Linked DNA regions of Homo sapiens: region 2 is linked to region 1. Evidence: promoter capture Hi-C in 16 types of primary human blood cells and fetal thymus (Javierre and others, 2016). All regions are on one chromosome and are shown on one strand. Each heading gives the region's core, a stretch centred on a gene start or on the middle of the fragment in contact. The rest is flanking DNA. Distances are from core to core; before and after follow the strand shown. Region 1 holds the start of ARHGEF33 (Rho guanine nucleotide exchange factor 33). Region 2 holds the start of GALM (galactose mutarotase).

What was found. Contacts are between HindIII fragments. The CHiCAGO score rates a contact against its expected background, and 5 or more counts as called.
Region 2: a contact is called between the fragment with the promoter of GALM here and the fragment with the promoter of ARHGEF33 in region 1, in 3 of 17 cell types (naive B cells, monocytes and total B cells). The highest score is 7.9, in naive B cells.

What each region holds. Positions count from the first base shown.
Region 1 is chr2:38,886,617-38,894,225 of GRCh38, forward strand. It overlaps ARHGEF33 (Rho guanine nucleotide exchange factor 33), which reads left to right and starts at 3,259. Exons shown (of 18, transcript NM_001145451.5): 1 at 3,259-3,370. The HindIII fragment of the contact is 7,511 bases long and covers 1-6,915 here.
Region 2 is chr2:38,662,493-38,670,101 of GRCh38, forward strand. It overlaps GALM (galactose mutarotase), which reads left to right and starts at 3,622. Exons shown (of 7, transcript NM_138801.3): 1 at 3,622-3,859. The coding sequence starts at 3,670. RefSeq lists enhancers at 3,374-3,886, 3,887-4,399. The HindIII fragment of the contact is 7,089 bases long and covers 1,689-7,609 here.

The sequences.
Region 1 (7,609 bases), core at 2,009-4,508:
TGTATAAAGAACTTTTACAACCCAACAATTAAAAAAACCTTAATTTTTAAAATGGGCGGGGGGCAGTGGCTCACACCTGTAATCCCAGCACTTTGGGAGGCCGAGGCAGGCAGATCACCTGAGATCAGGAATTCAAGAGCAGCCTGGCCAACATGGTGAAACCCCATCTCTACTAAAAATACAAAAAATAGCTGGGCATGATGGCGGGCACCTGTAATCCCACCTGCTCAGGAGGCTGAGGCAGGAGAATCGCTTAAACATGGTAGGCGGAGGTTGCAGTGAGCCGAGATCGCGCCATTGCACTCCAGCCTGGGCAACAGAGCGAGACTCCCATCTCAAAAAAAAAAAAAAGGTCAAAGAATTTGAACAGATGTTTCTCTGAAGGAGATATACAAGTAGCCAATAAGTAAACAAAAAGATGCTTAACATCCTTACTCTTCAGGGAAATGAACCTTAAACCTACAAACCCACCGTGAGATACCACTTCACACCAACTGGGATAGCTATTATTATTATTATTATTTTATTTTAAGTTCTGGGGTACATGTGCAGGATGTGTAGGTTTATTACATAGGTAAATGTGTGCCATGGTGGTTTGCTGCACTTATTAACCCATAACCTAGGTATTAAGCCCAGCAAGCATTAGCTATTTTTCCTGATGCTCTCTCTTCCCCCACTTCCACAACATGTGTGTTGTTCTCCTCCTGTGTCCATGTGTTCTCATTGTTCAGCTCCCACTTATAAGTGAGAACATGCATTGTTTGGTGGGATGGCTATATCAAAAAAAAAAAACAGACAATACAAAGATTGGCAATGATGTGGGGAAATTGGAGGCCTCACACATTTCTGGTGGGAATATAAAATGGTGCAGCTGCTGTGGAATACATTTCCTCAAAATATTAGACATAGAGTTACTACGTGACTCAGCAGTTCCTAGGTATGTACGCAAGGGAATTGACTTGCACACGAATGTTCATAGCAACATTATTCATTGCTATAGTCTGAATGTGTCCTTCCAAAATTCATGTTTAAACCTAATTTCCTCACGACTGTAATCCCAATACTTTGGGAGGCCAAGGTGGGTGCATCATTTAAGGTCAGGAGTTTGAGACCAGCCTGGCCAACATGGTGAAACCTCCTCTCCACTAAAAATACAAAAATTAGCCAGGCGTGGTGGTGTGTGCCTGTAATCCCAGCTACTCGGGAGGCTGAGGCACAAGAATTGCTTGAAACTGGGAGGTGGAGTCTGCAGTGAGCCAAGATGGCGCCACTGCACTCCAGCAGGGGCAACAGAGTGAGACTCTGTCTAAAAACAACAACAACAACAACAAAAACCTAATCTCTACTGTGGTAGTATTAAGAGTTGAGGCCTTTAGGAGGTGATTAGGTTATAAGGACAGAGCCCTCATGGATGGGATTAGTGCCCTTATAAAAGAGATGTGAAGGAGATTGCTTGCTTCTTCTGTCACAAGAGAATGATGCAAGAAGGTGCCATCTTTGAAGAAGAGAGCAAGTCCTTACCAGACACTAAATCTGCTAGTGCCTTGATCTTGGACTTAACAGCCTCCAGAACTGTGAGCAATACATTTCTGTTGTTTAAAATTACCCTGTCTAAGGTATTTTCTTATAGCAGTTCAAATGGACTAAGACATGTATAATAGCCCCAACTGGAAACAATCCAAATGTCCATCAACTAATGAATGTGTAAACAAAATGTCCACATAATGGAATATTATTCAGCCATAAAAAATGAAGTACTGATACTACAACATGGATGAACTTCAGAAACATTGTACTGGCCAGGCAGGTGGCTCATCCTGTAATCCCAGCACTTTGGGATGCCAAGGTGTGTGGATCGCTTGCCAGGAGTTTGAGACCAGGCTGGGCAGCATGGCAAAATCCCATCTCTACAAAAAATACAAAAATTAGCCAGGTGTGGTGGCACATGCCTATAGTCCCAGCTACTTGGGAGGACTGCTTGAGCCCAGGAGGCAGAGGTTGCAGTGAACCAAGATCATGCCACTGCACTCCAGGATGGGTGACAGAGCAAAACTTCATCTCAAAAACAACAAACAAACAAACATTGTACTAAGTGAAAGGAACCAGTCACAAACGGCCACATATTATATGATTCCATTTATGTGAAATGCTCTGAATAGGCAAATCCTTAGGGACAGAAAATAGATTAGTGGTTGCCAGGGGAGGAAGAAATTGGGAGGCATGAGGTTTCTAGAATTAGACAGTGGTGATGGTTGCACAGTCTTGAAAATGTACTAAAAACCACTGAATTGTTCATTTAACAGGGACAAATTTTATGTATGATGTGTAAATTATGTCTCAATTTCTTAAAAAGTAGATCTGTGTGTTGTCATATATTCTATGTCCAGAAAACTTCTTTACTTTTTACATAAGATAATTTAAAAATTACCAGAGCAGTATATGTCAACTACATTTAAAAAATTACAATAAAGACCTGAATGTTTTTGCTGAAACTCTATATTCTAAAACTGACAAAAAATAGTGTACACAATAGATAACTTCTTTGTCATATTTCTCTATTCAAAATCTTGTGAATATTTGTATTTCTCAATATGTTATTGCCAAAAGATGTATATTTTTATTTTTTGCTGTACTGGCACAAATTTGGGTTACAATGTCTTCTAAAATGTTAAAATAAAAATGGCATTTTTGTTAGTTTCTCATAATAATAGCTTTATGGCTAATTTTGAAAGACCCTATTTGTAAGTTTTCAAAGACACATTTTAAGAATTGGACATTTTTGTATATGTTGCTAAACATTAGCTGGCATGGCTTTAGAATTAAATATTATTATTATATGGAAATTCATGAAGAGACAAATACTGGACAAGTTAAGATAAGGTGAGAAGATGTTTTCAGGGACCAGGACATATAATTTAAATTCAAAAACTTCTGGAAAATATAGAAAAGTATCTGCTTTGCTGCAAAATAAATTTTCCCTAATTTTTTTCAATTTATTTAAGGCAGCAAGATATATATTTTACTCTTAAAATATTTAACTTGTATTGCTATGTTAATAACTTTTCAAAGTACAACTTTTCAATTTTCTAGTATACCAAAGATATTCCTCCTAAATGGGTTTCTTCCTTTTTACTCATTGAAACTAAATGCAGTTCAGTTATTTGATTAGTTGATGCTAGAATTTGACCTGGAGCTTATATAATTAGAAGAGACACTAGTTTTCCTCATTTAAAAGCCTGGTTAGCATACTACGGTCTCGTTTCAGGGGAAGTCAAGCCTCTCTACTGCTTCTTTTTATAACCTTTAAGTTAATTCAGAACCCAGATAAGCCTTGATCTGAGGATGATATAACCACCGCAGGCAACATGGGGTAAGTATGCGCTTTTATATGCTTTAAGGGGCACTGAAAGGGGAAACAATTTTATAAGAGATGAAAACCCATCAATCCTTACCACGTGGTGTACTAATTTAAATCCAATATATGCTAACATTTATTTGAGGTAGGCATTCAAAGAAATAACTTTTATTTAAGAGTTATAACAATTTGTAAAACATTTATTTCCTTGCTTAATTTTTATATTATGTCTTAACTGCGCTTTGCAGGTTATCGATAAACTGGAGACTGAAGTTGTTCTGCATATTAATAAATATAGTTGAAGATGAGTTAAATTTTGAGAGCAGTCTTAAAGAAAGGATGCTAGACAGCGTAAATCTGACATGGACATGCCTCTTTGGGATTAAGAATAATTAAAGAATGAAAAAGATTAGGGATGGAGGGAGATTGGTTTATTCCTTTCTAACACAGAAAAAGAATAGGGGAATCTTCAGCATTCACTCCCCTATGTACAGAACAAAAAACATATCCTGATTGAAAATGTGTACTGATTAATTACATGGGGGCTTTATTGGTGAAACCTAATTCTAAACACTTCATGGGGCTTTGGTGTGTAATGAGAAGAACTGAGTTTCACTTAAACATTGTCTTAAGTGAGAATAGCGTTCTATTATAATTAGTATTGGAATTATGTGAGTTTTTATATGCTGAAATAGTATTCTGAATATGTAGAAATCTCTATATCACCCTTTTATATTTTTAATAGCCCCTTTTAATACAAAATCATATTGCTGTAAATGGAATAGCTATTTCATTGAAGGCTACTTCTGAAGGATTCAACATAATGATCAGAAATGTATCCTAGAGAAAAAAGTTTTTGATGCACATTTATTCTAAACATTTTTCACAAACTGAATTAATTAATGTCTACATTTTTCATAACCATGGGCTCTGGAAATGCAATCTAAACTCATTTGAAAACTCAGAGGCTTTTGAAACAAGATGACCATACTATTGGTTTTTTTTTTTTTCTTTTTTCTTTTCTTTTTTTAGACAAGGTCTCACTTTGTCACCTGGGCTCAAGCAATCCTCCCACCTCAGCCCCCACAGGTAACTGAGACCACAGGTGCACACCACCACACCCGGCTAATTTTTGTATTTTTTGTAGAGATGGGGTTTCGTCATGTTGCTCAGGTTGGTCTTGAACTCCTGATCTCAAGCAGTCCTCCCACTTCAGCCTCCCAAAGTGCTGGGATTACAGGTGTGAGCCACCATGCTCGGCCTTATTGTTAACTTTTTCTTAATTCCCTTTATTTACCTTCCCTTTTCTCTGTGTATAAGGGTGTACTTCAACATAGCAGGCCAGTAATAAACTAAGTAATGTAGATACAAAGATCAACTGATCTTCCTCCTTCCCTTCCTCTCTCCTTTCCTCCCTTCCTCTCTCCCTCTTCCTTCCTTTCTTTTTCTTTAATGACAGCAGTTCTTAACCTTTTCGGTGTCAAGAATTGCTTTTAGAATCTTCAGAAACCAGTCCACCATTTCTGCAAAAAAAAAAGTAAAATCACACAAAATTTTGCATACAATTTCAGAAGATTTACAGGTGACCTGAAACCCTATTCCTGGGACCACAGGTTAAGACCCTTAGACTTTGATTTTAGGACTGGAGTATGATTTGTTCAATATTTCTCTTTGTTTGGATTTTTATAAATGTAAGAATCTTTAAATTCATAATTCTTGCTAATCTTCTCAAGGACAGTGTGGAAGATTCCCCACCCGCCCCCCACACAATTTACATGAGTGTGAAACACAGTTTAACCAACATGCATCACATTACTGCTGCTGGGCCCCAAGGACTTGACTAATCACTTGTGCCTTTTGAGAGTGCCAGGAATCACCTTGGGAGTCATGGAAGGAAAAAAAACCCTCATTATGTTATTTGTAAAGCACTTTGAATGCCCCAAATAAGATGAACGAAACAAATCATAAATGCTAATATTACAGAGAGCACTCTTCTGATTGGTATGTTCATGATTATTTTGTTGTCTGTTCATGCCTTTACTGACAAAAAGACAGGGTAGTAAGTATTAACATCTGTTTGAGTCTTCCTAAAATAATCAGAAAAATAAAGAAAAAGTGGCAGCTAATCGGATTCTCAAATTTATCCATTTGAGGAAATCTCTAGAATTTATTTCCTGAGAATGAGGGAGTAGCTGTTTTGGATTTGTCTTTGGGGCCTACTTATCTCAAATGATTTGAGGATATAATTCCCTTATATGGGGCAATGCCAGCCCTTTCCACCTTTCCCCAGGCTATGCTGGCATGGTTTTAGCAAGCAATGAAGAAGCAAATACTGGAAAATTCTTATGCTCTCTAAAAAAATCTCCTCCTCGTAATTTTCACTGGGTTTTTTATGGAGTGTGTGAGTAGGTGGGGTGGGTAGAGATGATGCCTAAAGGTGGGTAAACAGATAACTGGGGAAAAGTAGAAAAACCTAACTGACATCTGCTAAGTACCATAACACCCGGGCAAAGGATGAACAATGGGAAAGAAAGGATGGTTGTATTTCTTTTTTGAGACATTTTAAAATGTGCTTTCCCCATCTCCTAGCAGAGTTAGTCAGTGCACCCCCAATTGACAAAAACAAAAGTTAAGGCTCTGCTAAAATTGTAGAACCAAGTTCATTATTATAGCATATTCAGCCTCCTTTTAGTCTCCTGGTTCAAATAAGTTAGAGTAATTTTAAAAATTATCTTATGACATATTTCCTCCTTCTGAATCTGAGAGTGACTATCCAACTCTTTTTCTTGGGTGAAGCATACATTTGGCTCATGGAGCAACCTTTGAAATGTCGCTTCTATCTGTGCCCTCCTTTCCTTTCTAAGAGTCACTTCCCTAATTCAGGTCATCATTATCTTTTACTTGAGTTATTAAAGGTGCCTGCTCACTGGCCTCTTTGCAGCTGCTCTTTCCTCTACAGTGCCACTAAGTCATCTTCTTACCAGAGATATGTGATCTTGTTATACCTCTGCTTAAACATTTTCAATGACTCATTCTCTCCACTGCAGAGCAAGCTCCAAAGAAGAGATTCAAGGCTCTCTATCTGCCCCCAATCTACCTGTCTAGCCTCACCTTCTACTCTACCTTCTTTGCTCCCTAGGGTTCCTAAATCCACCTAGGCCTTGTGCTTTGTTCCTCTGGTAATCCTTTTTTTTTTTTTTTTCTTTTTTTGAGACAAGGTCTCACCCTGTTGCCAGGGTGGAGTGCAGTGGCACAGTCTTGGCTCACTGCAACCTCTGCCTCCTGGGTTCAAGCAATTCTCCTGCCTCAGCCTCCTGAGTAGCTGGGATTACAGGCACCCGCCACCATGGGCTAATTTTTGTACTTTTAGTAGAGACAGAGTTTCACTATGTTGGCCAGGCTGATCTCGAACTCCTGAGCTCAAGCGATTTACCTGCCTCAGCCTCCCAAAATGCTGGAATTACAGGTGTGAACCACTGTGCCTGGCCCCTCTGGTGATCCCCTTTTGACCGTTTCTACATATCATGCAAAGCCTGGCTCAAATCCTATCTTCTTAATGAAGCTTTCTCTAATCCCCACAAGGGAATTCATCTTTTCTCTGAAAATTTTAGGCACTTTACACTTTTCTTTTTCATTTGTCACAATCCATTATATGTTACAGTTATTTATGTGTCTCATCTTCCCTTCTAGACTGGAAGCAGAAACAATGGCATCCTTTCATTTCTCCTAGCACCTGGTACAATGCCTTTTATGTGGTATATGCTTATTAAATACTTGTTGAATGCACGTGAACTCTGTTTAAACCCCTAAAAACTTAATTTTAGCCAAACTTTCTTTCTTTTTTTCCCAAGTGAGTTACCTCATTTTCCAGGTTTCTATCTGAAGAGCTCAAATGAGTGAGTAGTATCTAAAATGTAGGCAATTCAAGGGAGATAGGGCACAAACAAGGGCTGGAGTGAAGACTTCTAAAGTCTGAAGACTGAAGACTGAAGACTGTTGTTAATAAGCAGAAAGCACACATAGGCTCCAAGGAAATATAAGAAAACTTTCCAGAATTAAAAATCGTTCTTGCCAGGCTGGCTCACTCTTTTGATCCCAACACTTTAGGAGGCCGAGACACTGGGATCATTTCAGCCCAGGAATTCGAGACCAGCTTGGGCAACGTGGCAAAACCCCATCTCTACCAAAAACAAAAAACAAAAAACAAAAAAATTAGCCAGGCATGGTGGCATGCACCTGTAGTTCCAGCTACTC
Region 2 (7,609 bases), core at 2,372-4,871, 220 kb before region 1:
CGAGACCAGCCTGACCAATATGGTGAAACCCTGTCTCTACTAAAAATACAAAAATTAGCAGGGCATGGTGGCATGCACCTGTTAGTCCCAGCTACCCAGGAGGCTGAGACAAGAGAATTGCTTGAACCCGGGAGGCGGAGGTTGCAGTGGGCCGAGATCACGCCACTGCACTCCAGCCTGGGCAACAGAGTGAGACTCCCTCTCAAAAAACAAACAAACAAAAAACACACAAAAAAACCAGACCTTATTCTTCACCTGGCCACCCTGACACCTCCCCTTCTAGTTAGAGGAAATGCTATCTACTTCAAGTAATTCTCCTTTTTTTTTTTTGAGACAGAGTCTCTCTCTGTTGCCCAGGCTGGAATGCAGTGGTGTGATCTTGGCTCACTGGAAGCTCCGCCTCCCAGGTTCACACCATTCTCCTGCCTCAGCCTCCCGAGTAGCTGGGACTACAGGTGCCCGCCACCATGCCCAGCTAATTTTTTGTATTTTTAGTAGAGACGGGGTTTCACCATGTTAGCCAAGATGGTCTCAATCTTCTGACCTTGTGATCCGCCTGCCTCGGCCTCCCAAAGTGCTGGGATTACAGGCATGAGCCACCGCGCCTGGCCAGTAATTTTCCTTTTACATAAATGCCATAATCCCTTTTCCCTTTACCTTATAATCTCATCCTCAGGCCCTTACCCCAAAATAAAAATAAATACCTCCTGAAATTTGACAGTGCTTCATTTTCTAGATTACTACCTTGCATCTGACTTCCCTGCAGATGGAGAATTGCCCCTAGATTTAGGGGTTTTGTTTGTTTGTTTTTAAGTGCACAGATATTCCTTTAGAGTTTCACTGTGGGATAAAAATAGGATATTAGGGTGAGAAAAATCAAGGTTTGTGCCTGACAGTTGATTCAAGCACAAGGTAATGCTATTTGCGACAATATGTTAGTTAAACCCTTCAAAGGAAAATGAAATCAAGAAGTGTACTCCTTACATTTTTTTTTTTGAGACAGAGTCTCACTCTGTCACCCAGGCTGGAGGCAGTGGTGCAACGTCAGCTCACTGCAACTTCCGCCTCCCTGGTTCAAGCAACTCTCCTGTCTCAGCCTCCAGAGTAGCTGGGACTACAGGCACATACCACCATGCCTGGCTAGTTTTTTTTTATTTTTATTTTTAGTAGAGATGGCGTTTCACCATATTGATCAAGCTGGTCTCGAACTCCTGACCTCAGGTGATCCACCCGCTTCTGCCTCCCAAAGTGCTGGGATTACAGGCATGAGCCACCGCGCCCAGGCCTCTTTACATTTTAGGGAGACATCATGGTACATTCATTTTCTACCAAATGGAGTAAAAAGAGCTTCCGTAGAGACATTTAGCATTGGGCAGGCAAATACATTTATTTCCTTCTGTAACAGCATGTGCTTGGCAGAACACTGAGAACTGGAGGTTGAGAAAAAAAAAAGTGGTCTTCCTGCTCACTTTTCTAAGACATCCTTGCTAACACAGCATTGCCAAAGGGCTTGCGTGTGAATCACCACAAAGTTAAGTGGCTGATGAAACTGAGAGTTTATGAGAATTTCTGATGAAGCAGCACATAGGAGTGCCTGTCGGTTATTGTATGAGTGTGATGCAGTCTATAATTTGACTTGTTTGGGTCTTTTTATTATTATACGTTGAGCTTCACTGAAGCCTGTTGCAAGCTTTTTTATTTTTCCTTTGCTATCAGAATTCTTCTGCTTCATGATGGAGAATTGAGGCTTTATGGCAAGAATGCTAAATATACCTTAAATTACAGACAGAAGAAGCTGAGAGATAGTTATTATGTTTTATTAGCATCTGATTCCAGGCACATAATCCCAATTCTCATAATTTCCTAATCAAAGATGCATTTCATTTCTGCACTCACCCCAGTCTAGTTGGATACCCTCTGAAGTACCCAGGAACCAAGCCAAGAGCAGTATCAAGAAAAGATAGATGATTATGCAGATGGCTTGAGTAAAACTTGTCTTTAGGCTCCCAGCATCCTCCCACTTCCTAGGCTCAGTACTCCTCTAAAGTTGCCAGACTTAGCAAGGAAGTACATAGGTGCCTGTATGTTATCTCATTAAGGCCCTTAATAGCTTTATCTTAATCCTTCTGCCATCAGAGCCTATTTTTTTGGGGAAAAAAATTCAGATTACTCATCAAGCCTTAGAGCAATATTTCTCTAAATCTGGTCCCAGATAATCTGCAGAAGAATAACTTGGGAACATGAAAAATGCAGATTCCTGAGTTTCACCCTAGACTTCCAGAATTAGAAATTCCAGAGGTGGGGACTGGGAATATGCATTTTAAATGTCCTCAGCAAATTCTGAGACACAATCAAGCAAGACAATTATTTAATAACCTTAGTGTCTTTCCTCTCCAACTGTACATACCTGAAGACTCCATCCTACTTGTAGAAAAGGAGATAACAAAGGTTCAGTACCTGGCATTTACAAGGACCTCAATCAATACTTGTTCCCTGAATCCCTTCTTAAAGGAACTGTGGACTTCAGGAGCCAGAAGACACCAGAGGTCCCTTTCCAGTCCCTTGAAGTAAAATAAGTCTGAGGCTGTCTCTAATCACCTCCGCACACCGAGGGCCTAATCCATCTACCTGACCCTGTCTGGTCCAAGCTCCTCGAGGCTGGCACAGCTTTGGCCGTCAGGAGAGCCTTCTGGGCAGTGGCTCTAACAGAACCATGTCCAGGACTTCATCCGTGGGACAAAAAGAGTGAATCTTCAGTAAGTCTGTGTGCAGAGAAGCCTGAGATGATTTACCTCATTTCTAAGCTACTACTGTACTTTGTTGTTGTTGTTGTTGTTGTTTTGAGACGGAGTCTCGCTCTGTCACTCAGGCTGGAGTGCAGTGGCGTGATCTCGGCTCACTGCAAGCTCCGCCTCACGGGTTCACGCCATTCTCCTGCCTCAGCCTCCCGAGTAGCTGGGACTACAGGCCCCCACCACCACTCCCAGCTAATTTTTTTTTTTTTTTTTTTTTTTTTTTTTTTTTGTATTTTTAGTAGAGGCGGGGTTTCACCGTGTTAGCCAGGAAGGTCTCAATCTCCTGACCTCGTGATCCGCCTGCCTCGGTCTCCCAAAGTGCTGGGATTACAGGCGTGAGCCACCGAGCCGGCCAACTACTGCTGTACTTCTTACCCCCTGTATCAAAGAGTTAAAATCTAATTTTTTCCCAAGATCGGTCTCACTGTAAGTCTGCTATCTGTATTTTCCCATTCTTCGTCTGATAGCCACCGACATTAATGACCAGCTCATTACATGTTGAGGTGTGGGGAGATGGGGGTAGAACCCCGTCAACCCAGGATTCGAGTTTAGAAAGACTACAAGCCCCAAAATGCAATTTCACCTCCCAAAAACTACCATTCCCAACATGCAATGCAACCAGGACGAGCCAAGGAAAAAAAGTACAAGTGTGGCTGCAAAGTTTGCCCCTCTTGTTACCCTCAGGCAAATGATTGATTTAGAAAGGCCCCAGGGGCTATTTTTTGCAGGAACGGTCACTCCCTAAATCCAGGCAGGGAAAGGGAGGAGTCTGAGCCGAGTCACGCCCCTTCTCCTGTAAACTTGGGTCGCCTCTAGCTTAGCGAGCGCTGGAGTTTGAAGAGCGGGCAGTGGCTGCACACGCCAAACTTTCCCTATGGCTTCGGTGACCAGGGCCGTGTTTGGAGAGCTGCCCTCGGGAGGAGGGACAGTGGAGAAGTTCCAGCTGCAGTCAGACCTCTTGAGAGTGGACATCATCTCCTGGGGCTGCACGATCACAGCCCTAGAGGTCAAAGACAGGCAGGGGAGAGCCTCGGACGTGGTGCTTGGCTTCGCCGAGTTGGAAGGTGGGTTGAACTGTGCCCTGGGCTGCGAGCAGGCCCCAGGCCCACGCTACATACCTCCCGGATCTAGCGGGCCACTTGCAATGCGAGGGACCAAGGGGGAAAGTCGCCTAGCTTGGGACCGTCTGACTTGCAAGCGCATGCATCATAGAGGGCCGTGTGGCCATCCAGCATTTGGGAAAAACTGTAATAAATAAACTATGGCAGTTGGCCTCTGGTTATCCGTTCAGGCTTTGCCCCAGTTAACGTAAAAGGTCAGCTGATGGTATGATACACTTCAGCGATCCTGGAGCGATCTTTGAACTGCCTAATCTTTGAACTGCCTGATACCTGGAGAAGGCTGGAGAGGAAAGAGCAGGCAAGAGGGGGTGTGGCTCCCACTTCTTCCCTTCTGAAGAAGGAAATTCAAATACTTGCCTCTTCTACTTCCTTCTTCCTTGATCAGATTCTCTTTGAGGCCTGGTTGTCTCAGAAATGCTCCACTAAGCTCAGTGGTTGCCTAGTACACCAGCTACCCAATAACCATTTAGGAACAAAATAGAGAAGACCAACTCAGTGTCTTCTCAGAGATCAGGTCTCCTACCAACTAGGATGGACTTTTATCCCAGAATCCATGGGCAATTAGGATCAGGCATTAATTAATACATTTGACAACTCTATTAATCCGATGACCTCATTAAACAGGACAGACAAGGTCCCCACTCTTGCGGTTTGGCTGGGGAGATAGACTTTAACTCAGTAATTGCATAAATAAAGAATGACAATTGCAGCTTGATTGCAGCAAAGGAAAATGTACATCATGCTCTCTTAGCACCATGGTGTAACTAGACAGAAAATGAGGTGTGAAATAAAGCTGGCAAAGGGAAACTGAGAGTTAATACTCTCTGCTCAGTGGTTGGGGCGTAGACAAATTCTGCTGGAGAGGAGGTTTGAGGTTTTCCTTTTGGTGTGTCATTCTGTCTGTTTGGTTCTTCCGATACGTAAGATATGTAACTTGGCTCATGGTTACATGTTGGCCAGACCAGCCTGGCCAGCATGGTGAAACCCTGTCTCTACTAAAAATACAAAAAAATTAGCTGAGCATGGTGGCACGTGCCTGTAATCCCAGCTAGTCAGGAGGCTGAGGCAGGAGAATAGCTTGAACCCAGGAGGCGGAGGTTGCAGTGAGCCAAGATTGCGCCACTGCACTCCAGCGTGGGTGGCAGAGCGAAACTCTATCTTAAAAAACAGAGAGCAAATTTCAATTCCTCAGGGAAAAAAACAAAACTCAGCTTTCTGTTGAACACCACCATGCCCGGCTAATTTTTTTGTGTTTTTGGTAGAGATGGGGTTTCACCATGTTGGCCAGGCTGCTGGCGGGCACCTGTAATCCCAGCTACTTGGGAGGCTGAGGCAGGAGAATCACTTGAATCTGGGAGGCGGAAGTTGCAGTGAGCCGAGATTGCGCCACTGCACTCCAGCCTGGGCGACAGAGTGAGACCCCATCTCAAAAAAATAAAAATATACTCTAACCTTTCCCTCTGCCTTTCTGTGTAACAGCTGACCATAAAGAAATTAAGACCCTCATTCCAGAGGGGTCCTGCCCCATACCCGGAGGAAGAAATGCTGCATGGGGAGGCCAAGAAAAATCTGAACACAGGCCTTGCCGAGTTTCCCCACTCACTCTATTAGCAACAGATCTTACCCTTTTGGTCCAATCATATTTCTACATGGCTGTCCATGTTCCATTGGACCTAAGCATAGAAATGGATTGTTTTCCTTGTATCTGTCGGTCTTCATTCTGAAAGCTCCCGTGTCACATAAAACTATAATCAAATAAATTTGTTTGGCTTTTTTATGTATTTTTTATTTTTTAGAGGTGGAGTCTCGCTCTGTCACCCAGGCTAGAGTGGAGTAGTGCAATTATAGCTGACTTGCAGCCTCGAACTACTGGCCTCAAGCAATCCTCCCACTTCAGCCTCCCAAAGTGCTGGGATTACAGACATGAGCCACTGTGCCCAGCTGTTTTGCTTTTCTCTTGTTACCCTGTGTTTGTTGTAGAGGTGTGGGCTGTGACTCTTACAGGGGAGATATACAACACTCTGTTACTATTTTGATGGTGCTCTGATACTACATTTCTAGTGCATTAAAACCTATGTTAACAATAAACTGGTAACAGTGGTTGTTAAGAAAGGATCCTGGGTGCCCAGGGTGCAGAGGATGGGAAGGAGACTTAATTTTCACTGCATATTCTTTTAAACCATCAGAGTATGTAAGTATATATAAACAAACAGAGGTAAATAATTTAAAGTAATAAGACTTGACAGAGGCCGGCATGGTGGCTCACACCTGTAATCCTAGGAGTCCAAAGTGGGAGGATCGCTTGAGGCCAGGAGTTTGAGACCAGCCTGAGCAACATAGTGAGACCCTGTCTCTAAAATAAATAAAAATAAATAAATAAATAAATAAATTTAAATTTAAAAAAAATTTTTTTAAATACTTGACAGAATAAGGGGTTATCTTGACATTACCATATCCCAAAAATGGTTTTGAGCCATGCGGAAGATCTGAGCGTGGATAATTCCATGAGACATGGTCCTTTTGTAACTGCAGAGTTAGATATGAACAATCTTCAATTTCCCAGACAGGTTATATAAACTGTTTGGATGACAGCCATAACCAGAGGTCAGAATGGTTCAGTTTCTCCCTGGGAAAATGGGATTTTTTTCTTTCATAGAATTCTAAAGAAGAAAATTATATAAATTTTTAGTTACAGTAAGAGAGGAGACCACCCCTCATATTGCCTTATGCCCAATTTCTGCCTCCAAAGAAAGAAGTAAAAACTAAAAGGCAGAAACGAAATCCACAGGCAGACAGCCCGGCACTACGCCATGGGCCTGGTAGTTAAAGATCGACCCCTGACCTAACCAGTTATGTTATCTATAGATTCCAGACATTTTATAGAAAAGCAGTGTGAAAATCCCTGTCCTGTTGTGTTCTGTTCTGATTACCGGTGCATGCAGCCCCCAGTCAGGTACCCCTGGCTTGCTCAATCGATCACGACCCTCTCACGCAGACCCCCTTAGAGTCGTAAGCCCTTAAAAGGGACGGGAATTGCTCACGCGGTGAGCTCGGCTTTTGAGACGCAAGTCTGCCTTCTTCAATCCGGTGTCTAAGGAGTTTTGTCTGCGGCTCGTCCTGCTACAACAGCCTAGAAAAATCAGTAATGCCTCCTATGAGTTTTTCAACCTTTTTTTGTATTTAAAAATGTTTTTTGCCGGGCACGGTGGCTCACGCCTGTAATCCCAGCACTCTGGGTGGGTGGATCACAAGGTCAAGAGACAGTGACCATCCTGGCCGACATGGTGAAACCCATCTCTACTAAAAATACAAAAATTAGCTGGGCATGGTGGCGCATGCCTGTAATCCCAGCTATTCAGGAGGCTGAGGCAGGAGAATCACTTAAACCTGGGTGGTGGAGGTTGCAGTGAGCCGAGATTGTGCTACTGCACTCCAGCCTGGTGACAAAGCAAGACTTCATCTCAAAAGAAGAAAAAAAAAGTTTTTCTTTTTTTTTTTTTTTTTAGTGCAGTGGCGCTATCTCGGCTCACTGCAGCCTCCACCTCCTGGGTTCAAGCGATTCTCATGCCTTAACCTCCCAAGTAGCTGGAATTACAGGTGGGCACCACCACACCCGGCTAATTTTTGTATTTTTAGTAGAGACGGGGTTTCACCATATTGGTCAGGGCTGGTCTCAAACTCCTGACCTCAAGT